Regions from separate parts of the Homo sapiens genome. Here regions 1 and 2 are each linked to region 3. Evidence: promoter capture Hi-C in 16 types of primary human blood cells and fetal thymus (Javierre and others, 2016). All regions are on one chromosome and are shown on one strand. Each heading gives the region's core, a stretch centred on a gene start or on the middle of the fragment in contact. The rest is flanking DNA. Distances are from core to core; before and after follow the strand shown.

Region 1 (2,946 bases), core at 337-2,836, 440 kb before region 3:
TCTTTAGGGTGAGACCACAGAATTTCTCATTTCTCACAACAAAGACCGTAACTCATAAGAATTACGCTGATGAGTTTTTCTCGTAAAATTGCATCCCCATTTTCATAGGTGAACAATCTGCAGCCTTATCCCTAATGATTAGGCAGTTTTTGATAGATGTATGGAAAGAGGGCTGGATATACTCTTCCAATTGTGGTTTCTCATAGTTTTCTAATTCCTACTTTAAATGTCCCTCAGAAAAAGAGTATTTGCAAGGCACTTCAAATTTGGTCCTTGTGAAATATGATTTCTTATTGCTAATAAACCAATCGATAAATGTAATGATTTTCTGACTGTCCTGTTTTAAGCTCAATAATTTATAATTTATGCTGATAGCATGAATTTTGGCATTTTTAATCTCAAAAGTTAGTTTCAAAGTACAGCCTTGTCAGGAACATGTCTCACAGCCTTGCCAGATGATATCATTCATAGACTAGCCCTATATATTATTAAGTAATGGAAAAGGTGGAATAATGATACTTACATCAAAGATCCATTGACATGTTTAGCTACAAAACCATTAACTTAATCCATAACTCAGAATTTAAAAAAATCTATTTAACTTTGCTAAAAAAATTGGAGCATTTTAAGCAATGTTTGTAGTATCATATTTGGTTTCTGAGAAGGTAAGTTTTTAGTACTTTCTGATTCACCTAGGTTCTGGATTTCAGGAACCAGTCTAGATGTGCAAAACCATAGATACTATTCCCATTTCTACTGCCTTATCTCCATGTGAGCCTAGAGGGGCAGAAACTCTACTTTTCAAATATTTAGAAATGTGTATGATTTTATGGTCTCAGAAATCAAAATGAATTCTCAGAGTCTGGAGTAGCACACTATGTCATTTCCTTTTGTGTTCATTTAAGGAATTTGTGTATCACCTTTTAAACATAAACATTCTTTCTTTCAGTAATGTTACCCTTTGTATTAAAAATCCTAAATAGTTCTTTTATAACCCAGTAATACTGAGAAGATCCTCATATAAAGAAGGCTTCCATTCTAAACTTGCAAGAAAATCTTCAAATTCCATGTGAATTTAAAACAGATTTTTGGTTTTGTCCATGTTATTTGTTCCTTCCTTTTGGTTATCTAGGATAGTTTGCTGACATTACTTGCAGATTTACTGAAGGCAGATGGGAATGTTTTCATTCTAGACCATCAGAGGAAATCAACAGTTGTTAAATGAGCCTAGCAGGTAATATCTCTGTGGCCCTGCCTTTTGATTAAATAAATTACAACATTTTGTTACGGAGAAAAGTGAATGCTATTATGTCTAGCAGCCACATAGTCATGTCATAGAGGCAAGCTAGGCATCATCTAGCCTGTTGCTGCTGCTGCTGCTAATCTGAAGAAAACAAGATTGTCCAGCTTACCCGGTCACTAATGTGTGGGCAGCTGACTCAAAATCATCAAACTGGTCTTCTCTGCATGCTGGCGGGACCATGGGTTTCAAGACAGATGCGAGTGCCAAGGATTTAACATCCTTTGTTACTTTTACTTTTTACAACAACCCCAAAATGTTAGCTGTTAAAACAATTGAAGTGAGTTAACTAAATAAACAATTGCCATTTTCATGAGATATAGTAATGCTGGATGACCCACTTAAAAGCATATCCACATAAAACTTCAATATATTAAACAGACCCTACTTTAGGCCAGGCATGGTGGCTCACTCCTGTAACCCCAGCACTTTGAGAGGCTGAGGTGGGCGGATCACTTGAGGTCAGGAGTTTGGGACCAGCCTAGACAACATGGTGAAACTCCATCTCTATTAAAAAATACGAAAATTAGTGGGCCGTGATGGTGCGTGCCTGTAATCCCAGCTACTCAGGAGACTGAGGCAGGAGAATCGCTTGAACCTAGCAGGCAGAGGTTGCAGTGAGCAGAGATGGCAACACTGTACTCCAACCTGGGCGACAGAGTGAGATTCAGTCCCAAAAAACAAGCAAAAAACCCAAACAGACTCTACTTTAGATCAGCCACCCTGAGTGGGTTAAAAAATATATACATATATACGTATATATATGTGTATATATACACATATATACGTATATATATGTGTATATATACACATATATACGTATATATGTGTATATATACACATATACGTATATATGTGTGTATATATGTGTATATATGTGTATACATATATATGTATATATACACACATATATATACATATATACACATATATACACATATATACACATATATATACATATATACACATATATATACATATATACATATATACACATATATACATATATACATATATATATACACACACACACACATGAAGAGAGCACTATATTTATGAAATGACTACTATATGGTAGGCACTGTATTAGGCACTTACACACGTTATGCTGAAAGCAGCTTTGCTTCAGAGGAAAGCTGGGCTTCAAAGCAGCCAGATCTGGGCTCAAATCCAGGCTCTATCATTTACTGTATGGCTCTGGAAAGTTGGTTAACTTTTCTTTCTTTTTCTTTTTTTTTTTTTGAGACAGAGTCTCACTCTGTCACCCAGGCTGGAGTGCAATGGTGCGATCTCAGCTCACTGCAACCTCCGCCTCCTGGGTTCAAGTGATTCTCTTGCCTCAGCTTCCCAAGTAGCTGGGACTACAGGTGCCTGCCTCTATACCTGGCTAATTTTTGTGTTTCTAGTAGAGACATGGTTTCACAATGTTGGCCAGGCTGGTCTCGAATTCCTGACCTGAAGTGATCTGCCTGCCTCAGCCTCCCAAAATGCTGGGATTACAGGCGTGAGCCACCGTGCCTGACCTGTTTAACTTTTCTGAGCCTTCAGTTCCTCAGCTGTAAATTAGAGATGATAGTGCAAAATCATTGTGAGAATGAAATGAAATGATGAATTTATGCAAAAATGCTTATTGACTAGCATATTAG
Region 2 (2,700 bases), core at 9-2,508, 480 kb before region 3:
CTCATTACTGGGGAGGGATCTTCTCCAGCCTGAGGAAAATGGACTCTGTCAACAGAATCAGCAAAACAGGTATAGATTGTCTTTTATCTTCACATTAAAACAACAACGACAAAAGTCCTGTAGAATGTCATTACTCATAATTTTGTTGTAGAAAGATTGGAAAGTGGTACAACTACTGCAATCAGTCTAATTATTTTTGAAAAGTAACTTCTGGGAGTCTGGAATGGAGGGAGGGGCAGTTCCAGCCTCAGAAACAGTTCCAGCCTCTATGGAGTTTACAGTCTATAGGGGGTTGGCATCCAATGCTAATGCATTAGAAACAATTAGAGAAAAGTGTCAGGCAGAGTATAATCAAGAACTAATGGTATGACATCCACACCGGGTGTGCAGAGACAGGAGAGTGGAGAGGAGGGAGGATTCATCTAGGTCTTCCCAATGGGCAGTTTTCAGAGAATGAAGGAGCCATATAGTCTGGTCAGTGGTGACAGCGTGCACACAGGCAGAAATGCAGGGAGGAGCAGGGCACCGTAGGGACCTGTCAGGTTGGTAGGGTGAAGCAGGAGTTCGTGCTAGGAGTAGTGAATATTTCAGTGTAGCACACTGAGAATCTATGAGCTCGGGCGGGGCAGGGGTGGGCAGTGACTATAAAATTGGTTTGACTGTTAAGATGAATGGAAGTCCTGTTTTTTTCTCCCAAAACTACTCCCAGAAGGCAGGCAACCCTTGGCTAATGAGATTTGTTCGGGCCGTCCCTAGTGGAGGCTGTGCTCTGGATTCCAAACCCCACGAGCACATCAGCCTGGAGCTGCTTCCGGGCTCGCTAAGGATTGTGGGAGCTCACTTCGGCAGTCGCAGTCTCGAGCCCTTTTTTCCTTTCCCCGTGAAAGAAATCCCTAGAGCAAAAGTTGCAAATGAGCAGTGTGCAAATAAAACCCAGCTTTCCTAGTGTTTACATAAAAAAAAAAGCACTTGCTAACATGTAAACATTTATTTCTAAAGGAAAATCTTCATTTCCCAAACTCTTCTGAATGTTAGAAGATTTGGCTGCTCCGGATGTACATTTGCACTTGGTAATGTCCAGTGGGCTGGAACTGATTCTGGCTGCTCCTTCAGCTCCTCCTCATGTTCACACCACCCAGCCTCCAACCTGCTCCCTGCTCAGCCCGTTTTGTGACCCTGCGTTTAAAGCATGCGTTTCCAGTGAGGCTGATATTGGTTCTGAGGGGGAGGCAGGAAAAGTCTTAGTACAATGGTGTGGTCCCCCAAAGGGCCATAGTACATCAACAGGGCAGATGTGCAACATATCTGTGGTATTAAAATGTTATGGGGGGGCGGGGTGGGGAGGAAGGAGGGCAATTAAGATAAAAACAAAACACCTAAAAATGCTGCTTGCAGGGGGAGTGGGGTGATAATAAAATAATAGCTGAGAAACTCTGGTTTAGAGCAGAGAGTACAGAATGGTACAGTGAGAGAGGGGTCTGGCCTCTCTGAGAGAGGGAAGAAGGGTTTGGCAGTCTTGCAAGGGTGTGAGCATGGAGGTTTGAAACTGAAAAGATGGAAAGCTGGAGACGTTCCATGTAACAATATCACTTTTAGGACTGTGATTTTCTTAATTTGGCAGGTATAAGAGTCACTGCTTTGGGCCCAGGGATGTGCATTTTTAACAAGTAACACAAGCGATTCTGATGCAGGGGATCTGCTGACAACTACAGAAAGAAATCTTTCTTTGTGGCCCTGGCTTGACCAAGTCTGGGTGTGGTGCACTCTGTGTGCCATTGTCTTTACTGATCCTTTACCATTATTCAGCAGGCTTCACTACACAGAAAACTTGCTCTCTCACCTGTATAGGACTGACGGGCCAGACAGGTCTGTTGAGGAGGGGCTCCGGAGCAGGCATCCCACCCTGGCCCTTTCCTTACCCCACTGTCACTACTTATGGCAAGTGGCCAAGATCTGGGAATCAGCGGGCTGGGAAAGTAAAATTTTTGCCTTTGTTAGCCCCATCTCTAGATCAGCGAGATTCAGTTGGATTAACCAGTATGTGAGGGGCAGGTCTTTAATCTGGAAGGGTTTCCATGGTCTACTCCAGTCCCAAGGCCTGTGTTGCCACCAGACACTGGCACAGGATTCGGCAGCCCAATGACTTGGGCTGACATTTTATGTAAATGTGTCCTCTAATCTTTCTTCCCTTCCTCTGCCGTCTCTATTGTTTATGTGTCCTTACTAGTTCCTTGAGTCTATCAACTAAATCCGTATGTGTGATCGTGCAGGCTGCTTTTTGTCAGATCACTGACAATAACAAGAGTTGAAAAGGAAGCTGTGGACTTTTAGTCTGTGTGCATTGATGCTGTTGTGTGGATTATCAAACTTTCACTTTAAAGCTCAGAGGGATGGGAGCCTGGGCTACTGAGCCCAGTATCTTCCATGAGGCCCCCAAGAAACAGTTATTCCACCAGGAAACTGAATTCCTTCTTCTTCCTCTGACAGTTTCCACTCTTGTATTTTCTCCTGGTTCTACTTAGCTCCGTGATAAAATAGAAATTCTTATGAAATTTAAACAGGGTGATGGTCCATTGGACAAAGTAGCATCTCTCTGCAAAATTTGTTGACTGCCAGAGGTGAACACTCAGATTTCTTTATATTAGTGTTCTTATCCAGAAAACTCAGATGGCAAAATATTATTGTTACCGTTTTGCTCCA
Region 3 (3,095 bases), core at 101-2,600:
TTATGTCATTGCCTTGCCAGCTTGTCTTGATTGGAAAGTGTACAAAAAAAAAAACTTTTAGGAGTTTATAAATATTCGTGACCATAGTCTGGTTTATGAGTTAACAATCCATAAGTAAACATAGATAACTTAGAAAAATTTAGTCAAAAATACATTACAAAAAAGAAAAGAAACCATGTATATTTCCTTTTTCCTTACCCCACCCCCATCATAGTCAGAAAAATCACCCTCCCTTTGCAGGAGGGTACTATCCTTCCTTCCACCACTTTAGTTATCTGAAGGCAAATGAAAATACAATGATCCTTTTCGTTTTCTGATTTAGCTTACAACGCAAACATTTTAACACAAACATAAACTACTGACTTCACGGAAAGCACCAAACAGAAAGAGCAAGATTCACTGACCCATTTGGAAGACAAAGACGACAGAGCGGGAAAGCTCTAAAAATCAGCTTGTGAGGCCTCTGAGAGATATTCTTCTGGCATTTCATCACAGCAGCCCCAGACCAGCTCACCTCCCTAGATACAAGGAGGAGGCACTAAATGGAGCTGTTTATTAAAGCTGCTGTGCTGGATTGCATTAGGAAGCGCGAGCAGACCACCTGGACCTTTCAAGATTGTGACAGTGTTTAATTTGCAGCCTGCCCTTCTGCAGCAGCCAAGACTACTACTACATTTACCGGGCTCAATCACACATTATCTGGGTTAGAAGTCAAGGCACATGTATTTATATATTTATATTTCCCATATGGAGAAAGGGAGAGAGGGAGAGAAAGAGAGAAGGAGAGAGCACAGTCAAAATAAAAATATTGAACAGCATTAGAAAAATATTAACTACTACCTAGGAAACCACACTTGATTCTCTTCTCGCACTTTCTTTCAGAGATCAAAATCCAAAAAGAAAGCAAATTTCTAAAATAGATTTTTAAGAAACATTCAGACCAAATTATAAATTAGATTTATTCTCCAGTGTTTTTGTTGTTGTTTTAGTTTTTGTTTAAAAGGATCGCATTGAAGTTTTAAGCTGAGGTTTCCCTGGTCAGATTTAATGGGTGCCTTTTGCCTTTCGCACTTTCAGCACTACACTGGCAGGTAGCTGAAGATACAGATAGAAAGATGGTACTGTAAATATGAATTATGTGAATCATATGGTGAGACCCTTGTGGAAAAAAGGGGAGTTGAGAAATGGCTGACTCCATACCTGACCAATTACAGCTTGCATGGTCCCCGTGTCCTGCTGCGCTGAGAGATAGCAATCCATCATATGTTGTCTTTGAAAAGGAGAATGGGGGTTTCTGGCATGCATCTGTCAATCAACTTCTGCACTCACAACCATCACCAAAAGCAAGGGGAAAAAAAGTCAAGCTGCTCCACCAAATAGAATGAAACCGTCATGTGACCTCCGGCAGACACGCACACACACATTCACTACCTCCACAGAGCGTAAGAATTTTCTGTAGATATGAAATGACATTGACAAATATCCAATACCAAGTAAATAAAGTGAGACAAACAGCTATTCACCAAAGACAAAAACATGGGCTGTAATCTTCCGCTAAAGGTTTAACAAACCTATGAGGATTGTTTTTAATGCTCTAGAAATCTATGTTTAAAACAAAACAAAAACAAAATGAACTATCTCAAATGAGTGTCCATTAAGACTTTGATTTTTGTGCTATTATATACATTTTTAAAATTACAGTTCATTGCTCTACTTTTCTTAAGGGGTCCCTAATGATTTTATTTTTAAAATCTCTAAATGACCTTTTGATAATATGCAGTTATCTCTGTTGTTTTATATAAGGACACCTTTTCAGAGAAGCTTGAAATGTGAACTGCTACATAACAAACACCCTGATATTTGTGAATTGGAAGTGGACATAGAAAATAATCCGTGTAAATGATGATGACCACTGTAATATAAAATATTCAAAGTGTGTAAATAGCAGTCACTAAACTTTTTATCTTCTGAAAGGTAAGGGATGATTTACTTGCAGCTCATCTAAACTGATGTAATGTGTTTTTAATGTGATGACAAGTATTTTAACTTTCTAAATTTAATTTTAACTATCTGATTCCTCACAATCTAGGGACAGATTGCTAATGCATTATGGGTCAGTTATTGTTAAGGGTGAAAAGAATATAACTTACCAACTTTTTAACCTTCTTAGGCTAAAGATCGGAACCTGACTTTCAAGACAATCCTACAGGTATTGTAAAGTTGCTCTCCAAAAACCCAAACCCATAAACACCATCCGTTAACTTGGTGGCTTTGTGGCAGTGAAGAACATTCGCATTTGCCTACTTTTTTTCTTTTTTTTTTTCATTTGCCTACTTTTTAACTGAAGTTCATTAGTTAGTATACTCTCCCTAACTTTTCAAAACAAATTTATGGGAAAACCTTGTGTTAATATTAAAATGGAGATTTTTTTCAAGGCTCTAAACTGATGACAGGTCGGGTAGCAATGAGAAATATTTAATACAGAATATATACTATTATGTATATTATTGCATAATACCCACGGCTTGAAAATTAATCAAAAGGAACTTCAAGTAAGAAAAAAAAAACAAAACAATTTTCAACATTGTTAAAGAAATCTTTAGGAGCAAAGAATGAAGGACCGAAGCGCGCGCGCACACACACACAAACACACACACACAGACACAGACACACACACAGTTAAATCAGCATCCCCAAATAAAATGAGACCGTGCACCAACTGGGTAGCCCTCCTGGGAGCTGAGGGCTAACTGAGGAAAGGCCCTTCTCAACATCATTAAATGTCCCGTCTGCGCTGAAGTCCTACCCGGGGGTTTCTGCAGTTATCCCAGATCAGAACCTCAGGCTTCCCATCATCTCCTTTGGCCAGGGAAGGGGAGGCCAGGGAAGCCGAGCCTGGAGCATCGACAAGGACTGAGCCAAACTTGCCCGAAACCTGCGGGCTCACAGAGGGCAGGGGGCGCGACTGCTCCTGGCATCGCCTTCTTGGGACCCCGCCTGGGCGGACACTAGACAGAAAGCCAGGTGACGGGACCAGTGGGAAGTTGCGGAGGAGGGGCGAGCTGCAGTCCCAGGCCGCAGCAGCCGCTGAGCAG

Evidence for each region. The method cuts DNA at HindIII sites, captures the fragments that hold promoters and counts their contacts. A CHiCAGO score of 5 or more calls a contact.
Region 1: a fragment that was not itself captured here is called in contact with the fragment with the promoter of POU6F2 in region 3 in 1 of 17 cell types (M2 macrophages); the score reaches 5.3 in M2 macrophages.
Region 2: a fragment that was not itself captured here is called in contact with the fragment with the promoter of POU6F2 in region 3 in 1 of 17 cell types (M2 macrophages); the score reaches 5.9 in M2 macrophages.

The regions. Positions count from the first base shown.
Region 1 is chr7:39,418,286-39,421,231 of GRCh38, reverse strand. The region is part of intron 6 of POU6F2 (POU class 6 homeobox 2); the gene reads right to left. The region is part of intron 2 of LOC105375238 (a long non-coding RNA gene); the gene reads left to right. Among named protein-coding and RNA genes, the nearest start is that of POU6F2-AS1, 13 kb to the right of the region's middle. The HindIII fragment of the contact is 4,321 bases long and covers 1-2,946 here.
Region 2 is chr7:39,456,651-39,459,350 of GRCh38, reverse strand. All of the region lies in intron 8 of POU6F2 (POU class 6 homeobox 2), which reads right to left. The region is part of intron 2 of LOC105375238 (a long non-coding RNA gene); the gene reads left to right. Among named protein-coding and RNA genes, the nearest start is that of POU6F2-AS1, 52 kb to the right of the region's middle. The HindIII fragment of the contact is 5,036 bases long and covers 1-2,700 here.
Region 3 is chr7:38,976,164-38,979,258 of GRCh38, reverse strand. It overlaps POU6F2 (POU class 6 homeobox 2), which reads right to left and starts at 1,350. Exons shown (of 10, transcript NM_001370959.1): 1 at 1,201-1,350. The coding sequence starts at 1,305. The HindIII fragment of the contact is 7,072 bases long and covers 1-1,823 here.